2 separate regions of the Homo sapiens genome follow, and region 2 is linked to region 1. Evidence: promoter capture Hi-C in 16 types of primary human blood cells and fetal thymus (Javierre and others, 2016). All regions are on one chromosome and are shown on one strand. Each heading gives the region's core, a stretch centred on a gene start or on the middle of the fragment in contact. The rest is flanking DNA. Distances are from core to core; before and after follow the strand shown.

Region 1 (4,677 bases), core at 1,709-4,208:
AATATGTACACATGCACTACGCACATACACATACATGTGTACACACATGCATACACAGGTACATAGACACATCTCTCACACATCACATACAACGAGTTTCTCCAGTAGGGGGCATCTAGTCCTAAACAGCCCTCTCAATAACAGGAACTCCAAGAACGGTGAAGCCAGTGTTTCTCAAATAATATCCAGACTCCTTTGCAAAGATCAAAAAAAACTGGAAGACCCCCAAGAATATATCTGCAAGACTCCAATTTGAAAATAAAACAAAATAACATGAAGAAAGTACCAAAGATTTATTCTATAAAGATCTTCCAATTGCAAATTAACACATATTTACAACTGGTTTTAAAAAAAAAAAAAAGATTAAATCATTATTAAAAAGAAAAATGTAATTTATTTTTAGTCTCTCTTTGTTGCCCAGGCTGGAGAGCAGTGGCATGATCTGGGCTCACTGCAGCCTCCGCCTCCTGGGTTCAAGCAATTCTCATGCCTCAGCCTCAAGAGAGGCAATTCTCAAGCCTCAGCCTCCCAAGTAGCTGGGATTACAGGCATGCACCACTATGCCCGACTAATTTTTTGTATTTTTAATAGAGATGGGGTTTTGCCATGTTGGCCAGGCTGGTCTCAAACTCCTGAGCTCAGGCAATCTGCCTGCCTCGGCCTCCCAAAGTGCTGGGATTACAGGCGTGAGCCACCACGCCCGGCCAGATCTGCAATTTAATATCTTTCCATATGTGTGAGTAAAAGAAGCCTTTCTCCATTTATTGCTGCCTCTAGTTCTCTCTCTACTAGTTCAGCAGGGCCAAGCTCCAGGCAACAAAATGGAATTCTCCTTTTTGCCTTGTCCTTTTATCTTTTTATGTTTTTCTAATTAAAATGTTTTATGATTTTTGCTGGAAATAGTTAAAAATCATTATTATGATTATAGTAATGATTTATTATGTCTACTATTATAAAAGTCGACAATTCAGAAAATAGAGATTTAAAAAAAAATGTAAGCCATCCCCTCTCTTTGACAGATAATATCCCTTTTGTGGTGGGCTTCTTTCTGGCCTGTTTCTTTACTGAAGTATTTCCTGTAAATACCCGGCAAGGGTCAGCCCCGCTGCAGTCACTCAGCACCTGTTGCCCTGCAGGGCTCCAGGGACCCAGGCTGACCTGGTAGCTCTGTCTTACCTCTCAGAGGCTGGAGCTGTGAAAAGGTTGGCCTGGAGTCTTTGACCCAGTTTTCTTCAAAGTGTTCTTCCAGAAGCATTGTCTATTGTTTTCTGAACTCTCAAGGTTAGAGTGGCTGGGGACCCTTAGGACACTCTATCCCTCCCTGAGACTAGAATGGGATTGAGGGGTGCTCATGACCCTCCCAGCCCAGTTAGCTCCCCGCCTGCTCCACACCAGCCCTGCTGGTTCAGGGTCACGAAGCCTGGCCTTGGGCCAGGACAGTCCCCTTTTCTGGTCAGCAGCCCAGTGGGTGACTAAGGCTGAAAGGCACAGATGGAGGATCCCAGCTTCCTCCCTGGCTCTGTCCCCGCCAGGGTATGTGACCTCCAACAGCCCCTCTGGGACTGTACCCACCTGAAGTTGTGGTGGTCCTCCTGGCTTGAAGGGTTTCTCACCCCTGCCCCGCCCTCTCCTCCGCTCAGAGTCAGACTCACAGGGCCACTGGTGGCTCTCCCCATCTTCTCCAGTGCCTCATTTCCCTCACACAGGGAAATCTGTCTCATAGGACCTAGAGTAACGTACAAATATGGAAAATAAAAATACTAAGTGGCCAGGCTCAGTGGCTCATGCCTGTAATCCCAGCACTTTGGAAGGCCAAGGGGGCCAAATCACCTGAGGTCAGGAGTTCGAGACCGGCCTGACCAACATGGCAAAACCCCTGTCTCTACTAAAAATACAAAAATTAGCTGGGCGTGGTGGTGGGTGCCTGTAATCCCAGCTACTTGGAAGCTGAGGCAGGAGAATCACTTGAACCCGGGAGGCAGAGGCTGCAGTGAACCAAGATCGTGCCACTGCACTCCAGCCTGGGTGACAGAACAAGACTCTATCTCATAATAATAATAATAATAAGTAAGACCCAGGTTTCTGTCTGTCTTCATCAGAAGTACAGACCACACAGATGGTTACGAAATTTGCAAGACTTATTTGGGATGATCTGACTTACAATATGGGCCAAGTGACCTTTACAAAATTCGTTTTGCAGGTTTCAGGGGTCCCTCAAACATCTGGGCTGTCATCCTTCGGAGAGACTGGAACTGAGACACAAGGAGAGACCTAGTGATGTGGGAGAGTTAGGAGAAGAAGCAGTGATTTCAAACGCATGCCCCTCACACGGAAGAAGGGCAGGGGGAAAGCCATGCAGGTGTGGGCGTGGCACTTGAGCAGCCTCTCCCATGGGCACCCAGTGGTTAATGCACAATGTTTAGCACGTCGCCCAGGGAGGCCATCCCCTTCCGCTACCCCTTTCATGGCAAATGCTGAAACATCGTTGAAGACTCCTCTCAAGGGTCTCCTCTTCCAGGAAGCCTTCGGTCAGGAATAGGTGCCCCTTCTGGCTCCTCCTAGCCTGAAAGCCAACATGAAATCTCCCTGGGCTGAGCTGAGTCGTCATATTTTGTTGTTGTTGTTGCTGTTGTTTTACTATGCCTGTGAGACAAGTTCAGAGTCATGCTTTTGATCAAGACCAGAAAATATACTACCTTGGCTCCATCAGCATCTTTTCCTCACCACACCCAGAATTTGCCTGTCCCCCGAAGGAAGCTCCAACGGCTGTCAAGCCTGAGCATCCAGACCGTAAAGCAAAGAGAAATGGGCCGGGAGGAATGGAGTGACAGGGCGGGGCCCATTTGCCTAGAGGTGCTTTGGGCTGCCCGGTCACAGAGGGTGACTCACTCCCCCAGACAGGAGGGGAGTGGCACCAGGGGACCATTGGGCTGGGCAGGGGAGCCTTTGTGGTGAGAGCCTGTCCCTGCCTTAAGTGCCTACTGGATCCCGGGAGCCTGGGCTGGGGCCTGGGCACTGCTTCCTCCTTGGCCCCTCAGGCCCTTGGAAGCAGAGAGAGAACCTCTTGCAGATCCCAGGCTCGTCCCCAGCACAGCAGACACCAGGAAGGTGGCCAGAGCCTCACTGAGCCGAACCGACGGCCGCCCACCCACCCAGGCTGGAGCCATGGATAAATTCCGCATGCTCTTCCAGCACTTCCAGTCAAGCTCGGAGTCGGTGATGAATGGCATCTGCCTGCTGCTGGCTGCGGTCACCGTCAAGCTGTACTCCTCCTTTGACTTCAACTGTCCCTGCCTGGTGCACTACAATGCACTCTACGGCCTGGGCCTGCTGCTGACGCCCCCGCTCGCCCTGTTTCTCTGCGGCCTCCTCGCCAACCGGCAGTCTGTGGTGATGGTCGAGGAGTGGCGCCGGCCCGCAGGGCACCGGAGGAAGGACCCAGGCATCATCAGGTGCGGTCCCACACCACTCAGTGACCCATGAGCTTTGCCAGGGGCTCCCCAGCCACCCCACAGGCACTGTCAAGTGCACCCCCAGACCCCAACCATTCTCATTATCAGGGGATTCTCCACCCACCCTACAGGTACTGCCAGGTGCGCCCTCTCCTTTCCCCAACTAGGAATTATCGGCTCACAGAGAGCCACTTGCCAGTTTCCACTCTGGAAACATATTTCTGTTCCTATCGTTTGTCACCTTTCCGTGGCCAGTGCTGTAAACATAGGAATGACACAGGATTCCCAATTACCCAGGCCACTCTAGGGGCTGCGGGAAAACTTCCTCTTTGCCCTCTGAAGCTCTGCTGAAAATCAACTGACAAAAGGCAGATTAATAAGAGAAAAGGCATACAAATTTATTTGATTACCGTTTTATGTGCCACAGAACCTTCAGAATAAAGACCTAAAGATACAGAGGAAATGGTTCATTTTTATGCTTAGGTTCAACAAGGTTTGGATAGCCACGCAGAAATAGAATTGGATTAAAAAAGGGATGAACTGATGTTATAGACGGAGTGGGGAAACTCAGCAAGGCCATCTAGGTTCTTCTTGGCCTCTCTATACAGTGTTCCTTTCTCCCAGACACGGGGCAGGACCCTCTCTAGAAGGGAGTCTTATGATCTACAATGAAACTAGGTAGGTCAGATCATTTCTTTACGGCCAGTTTTCAGACAGAAAGGCGGGGGGAAATTAGAATCATATTTTTAGGTTTTATGGTGGCAGCTTTGGAGAAAAGGAGTTCTGGTTTCTATGACCCACCTTGGGGAAGATGGATTCTAGTTTCTATGGCTAGCCTTGGGGGAAAATAAGGAGCCAGAGATTGGGTGGGGGGGCCAGGCGCGGTGGCTCTCACCCGTAATCCCAGCACTTTGGGAGGTCGAGGCGAGTGGATCACCTGAGGTCAGGAGTTCGAGACCACTCTGGCCAACATGGCAAAACCCCCATCTCTACTAAAAAATATAAAAAATTAGCTGGGCGTGGTGTTGGGCACCTGTGGTCCCAGCTACTCAGGAGGCTGAGGAAGGAGAATCGCTTGAACCTGGGAGGCAGAGGTTGCAGTGAGCTGAAATCGTGCCACTGCACTCCAGCCTGTGCGACAGAGCAAGACTCAAAAAAGACAAAAAAAGAAAAGAAAATGCTAAAGCCACCACTGCCTAGAACATATTTACAGCTCACACTGGGT
Region 2 (4,327 bases), core at 369-2,868, 630 kb after region 1:
GATCGGGCCACTGCACTTTAGCCTGGGTGACAGAGCTAGTGGGACTCCTCCTCTGTCTCAAAACAAACAAACAAACAAAGATTAACCCTTTCATCACTCTCTATTCCCAGATTAATTTTGCTTCACAGGATTTACCACCACCTGATTTTTTTCTGTTTCACTTGTTTATCGTCTGTCTCTTCACTAAAATGTAAACTTCCCAAGTAGAGGGATTTAGTTTTGTTTATTCCGTGTACCTAGAGCAGTTCCTGGCACATAGCAGACACCCAATAAGTATTTGTTAAATGAATACTGTGGAATGAGTTTTTTACACATGAAATTCTCAGCTAATCAAACAAAATAGCTATGTGGAGACTGCTCAAGAAGCAATGCTGCCAGGAGCGGTGGCTCACGCCTGTAATCCCAGCACTTTGGAAGGCTGATGCAGGCAGATCATGAGGTCAAGAGTTCGAGACCAGCCTGGCCAACATGGTGAAACCTCATCTCTACTAAGAATACAAAAATAGCCAGGTGTGGTGGTGCGTGCCTGTAATCCCAGCTACTCAGGAGGCTGAGGCGGGAGAATCACTTGAACCCAGGAGGCGGAAGTTGCAGTGAGCCAAGATCACACCACTACACTCCAGCCTGGCGACAGAGCTAGACTCCGTCTCAAAAAAAAAAAAAAAAAAGGAAAAGTACTTCCTTCAATTAGTCATTCTAAAGACTTCATGAATTAAACTCCATAAAAGACAACAGTGTCTAGCATATATAAAATGCTAAATAAATGTACGTTTATTATGATGAATATGTTGAATATTTACAGGTGGTTAACTATAAACACCTCTAGTTGAAAATATATATAATATATATTACATATATTATATATAATATATATGTATATTATATATGTAATATATACATACACATTATATATAATATATACGTATATATATTATATAATACGTAATATATAATACTTATATATATAATTCGCCTCCCAGGTTCAAGCAATTCTCCTGCCTCAGCCTCCCAAGTAACTGGGATTACAGGCATGTGCCACCACGCTCGGCTATATATTTTTTTAATTATTATTTTTTAGTAGAGACGGGGGTTTCTCCATGATTGTCAGGCTAGTTTCGAACTCCCGACCTCAGGTGATCCGCCCGCCTCGGCCTCCCAAAGAGCTGTTTTAAAGCACAGGTTCCCATGGCATCGCTTCTTCCCCCAACCCTCACACACTGTCCCTAACCAAAGAGACTGCACACCCCAGAATGCAACACGCGCCTCCGCGAAGAAGACCTACTCATAGCAAGTACTTCACAGCCTACAATTCCCAAGATGCAACGCGACCTCCTTCCCACAGCAACGAAAGACTGCGACTCCCCGGACTATCAGGCCGGGAGAGTCCACTTCCAGCTCACCTCGGAGCTCCGGGAGCCTTTCAGCACCTGCTTGGTGAGCGCGATTACGTCAGTACCACAGGTGGTCACCTTCTCCGTGAGAAGCCCCTTCACGGACTGACCGAACCGCGCTTGAGACTCTGGCGTTCCAGTCGCCATCATTTCAGTTAGCGAACGGTTGCGCACTGACGATGGTGAGTCGCCGGGGCCAAAAGACAAGCAAAGCGGAAGGAAAAGAGGCGTCTCTTCCTCCATGGGAAAAGGAAGGGACGCATGCGCCTGATGGAGGTTGACCTTTGCTCACTAAACTCATGAACTATTCATTGATATCCTGAGGAAAACAGGGTCCAGGCAAACATCTCTGGAGGGGATGGAGGACAGTTTCATTGACTCTATGGTTCAGAATCGGAAAGCCTGCGGCAGGGCATGGCGGCGCACGCCTGAAATCCCAGCCCTTTGGGAGACCCAGGCAGGAGGATCACCTGAGCCTGAGAGTTCCAGACCACCCTGGGCAACATAGCGAAACTCCATCTCTTTAAAAATAAAATAAAATTAAAATTAATACAAATAATTAAAAAGAATCAGAAGGCCCGGATTACAGTCCCAATGCTACCATTTAGCAGTGTGTGGCTGCAAATTACTCAGCTTCTGTCTTATATTCCTCATCTGTTAAACAGAAGTAATAATGTTTCCAAGGGGTTATGAGAATATCATTCCATTCATATATATATACACATATATATATATACACATATATATACACATATATACACATATATACATATATATACATATATATACACATATATATATACATATATATTTTTTTTTCCCCAGAGTCTTGTTCTGTTGCCTAGGCCTTTTTTTGATTAATTGAGACAAGGGGCCAGGCGTGGTGGCTCACGCCTGTAATCCCAACACTTTGAAAGGCCAAGGTGGATCACTTGAGGTCAGGAGTTCAAGGCCAACCTATCCATATGGTGACACACCTGTAGTCCCAGCACTTTGGGAGGCCGAGGCAGAAGGGTCACTCAAGGCCAGGAGTTCAGTATCAGCAGCCTGGGCAACATAGCGATAACTTGTCTCATTTTATTTAATTTTATTTTATTTTATTTTTTTTTTGAGATGGAGTCTCGCTTTGTTGCCCAGGCTGGAGTGCAGTGGCTCGATCTCAGCTCACTGCAACATCCGCCTCCTGAGTTCAAGTGATTCTCCTGCCTCAGCCTCCCAAGTAGCTGGGATTACAGGTGCTTGCCACCAGGCCCGGCTAATTTTTGTATTTTTAGTAGAGATAGGGTTTCACCATGTTGGCCAGGCTGGTCTCAAATTCCTGACATCTAATGATCCACCAGCCTTGGCCTTCCAAAATGGTGGGATTACAGGCGTGAGCCACTGCACCTGGCCTCATTCCATTCAATTTTAACAAACATTTCATGAACTAAATACCAGACACTGTACTAGGCTGGGGATAGAGAAAGAAATGAAATACAGTTCTTGTCTCTGTGGAACTCCCAGGCTGATGAGGCAGATAGGCCTGTAAACAAATGAAGAAGGAAAAACAATCTAATAGAAAAATTGGCAAAAGGCACAAGTAGGCAATTCAAAAAAAAAAATCAACTGGCTGATAAATGTGAAAAATGCTCAACATCACTAGTAATTTTTATTGATAACCTCTTTATTGTATTAATACCAAACTGATGGTAACCACCTTGTAAGTGAATTAATATGTAAAATATTTCAAGTAGGCCAGGTGCCGTGGCTCACGCCTGTAATCCCAGCACTTTGGGAAGTTGAGGCGGGAGGATCACCTGAGGTCAGGAGTTCGAGACCAGCCTGCCCAACATGGTGGAACCCCGTCTCTACTAAAAATACAAAAATTAGCCGGGCGTGGTGGTGGGCACCTGTAGTCCCAGCTACTCTGGAGGCTGAGGCAGGAGAATTTCTTGAACCCGGGAGGCAGAGGTTGCAGTGAGCCGAGATCATGCCACTGTATTCCAGCCTAGGCGACAGAGTGAGACTCTGTCTCAAAAAAAAAATAAAATATTTCAAGTAGCTCCATTTCTTTTTTAGTTAATAAAAGATGTGAGAATGTTATTGTATTGAAAATTTTGTTCAAAATTACCTGTATTCAATATCAACATTACTTCCTCTTCCAAGTGTCTAGATTCATATGTCTCCGTTGAATCTCATTTACTGTTTACTTTTTGTCCTTAATAAACTTTATTGAGTTTATGTGCATGAATTTATGTTATAATTTATGTACAATAACAACATTATTTTTTGAGATGGAGTCTTGCTTTGTCACCCAGGCTGGAGTGCAGTGGCACGATCTTGGCTCACTGCAACCTTTGCCTCCCTGGTTCAAGCGATTCTCCTGCCTCAGCCTCCCGAGTAGCTGGGATTACAGGTGCCCACTATCACGCCTGGCTAATTTTTGTATTTTTAGTAGAGATGGGTTTCACCATGTTGGCTAGGCTGGTCTTGAACTCCTGACCTCAGGTGATCCACCTGCCTTGGCCTCCCAAAGTGCTGGGATTACAGGCGTTGAGCCACCACGCCCGGCCTGCACAATAACCACATTCTTTAAAGTGTACGATTTGATGAGTGTGACAGACGTATACATCTGTGAACCACCACCACTATTAAGATACAGAACAGGGTGGGAGCAGTAGCTCATGCCTGTATTCCCAGCACTTTGGGAGGCCGAGGCAGAAAGATTGCTTGAGGCCAGGAGTTCAATATCAGCAGCCTGGGCAACATAGCGATAACTTGTCTCATTTTATTTATTTATTTTTATTATTTATTTACTTTATTTTGAGACGGAGTCTTGCCCTGTCACCCAGGCTGGAGTACACGGGTGTGATCTTGGCTCACTGCAACCTCCGCCTCCCGGGTTCAAGCGATTCTCCTGCCTCAGCCTCCCAAGTAGCTGGGACTACAGGTACGCA

The links. The method cuts DNA at HindIII sites, captures the fragments that hold promoters and counts their contacts. A CHiCAGO score of 5 or more calls a contact.
Region 2: the fragment with the promoter of BORCS7-ASMT here is called in contact with the fragment with the promoter of CALHM3 in region 1 in 1 of 17 cell types (neutrophils); the score reaches 7.4 in neutrophils.

The regions. Positions count from the first base shown.
Region 1 is chr10:103,477,521-103,482,197 of GRCh38, reverse strand. It overlaps CALHM3 (calcium homeostasis modulator 3), which reads left to right and starts at 2,958. Exons shown (of 3, transcript NM_001129742.2): 1 at 2,958-3,452. The coding sequence starts at 3,166. It overlaps NEURL1-AS1 (NEURL1 antisense RNA 1), which reads left to right. Exons shown (of 4, transcript NR_120675.1): 4 at 2,201-2,595. RefSeq lists an enhancer at 4,400-4,677. The HindIII fragment of the contact is 14,732 bases long and covers 1-4,677 here.
Region 2 is chr10:102,851,501-102,855,827 of GRCh38, reverse strand. It overlaps BORCS7-ASMT (BORCS7-ASMT readthrough (NMD candidate)), which reads right to left and starts at 1,618. Exons shown (of 15, transcript NR_037644.1): 1 at 1,401-1,618. It overlaps BORCS7 (BLOC-1 related complex subunit 7), which reads right to left and starts at 1,569. Exons shown (of 5, transcript NM_001136200.2): 1 at 1,401-1,569. The coding sequence starts at 1,541. RefSeq lists enhancers at 1-226, 1,234-1,423, 1,023-1,535, 1,494-1,553, 1,536-2,049. The HindIII fragment of the contact is 18,616 bases long and covers 1-4,327 here.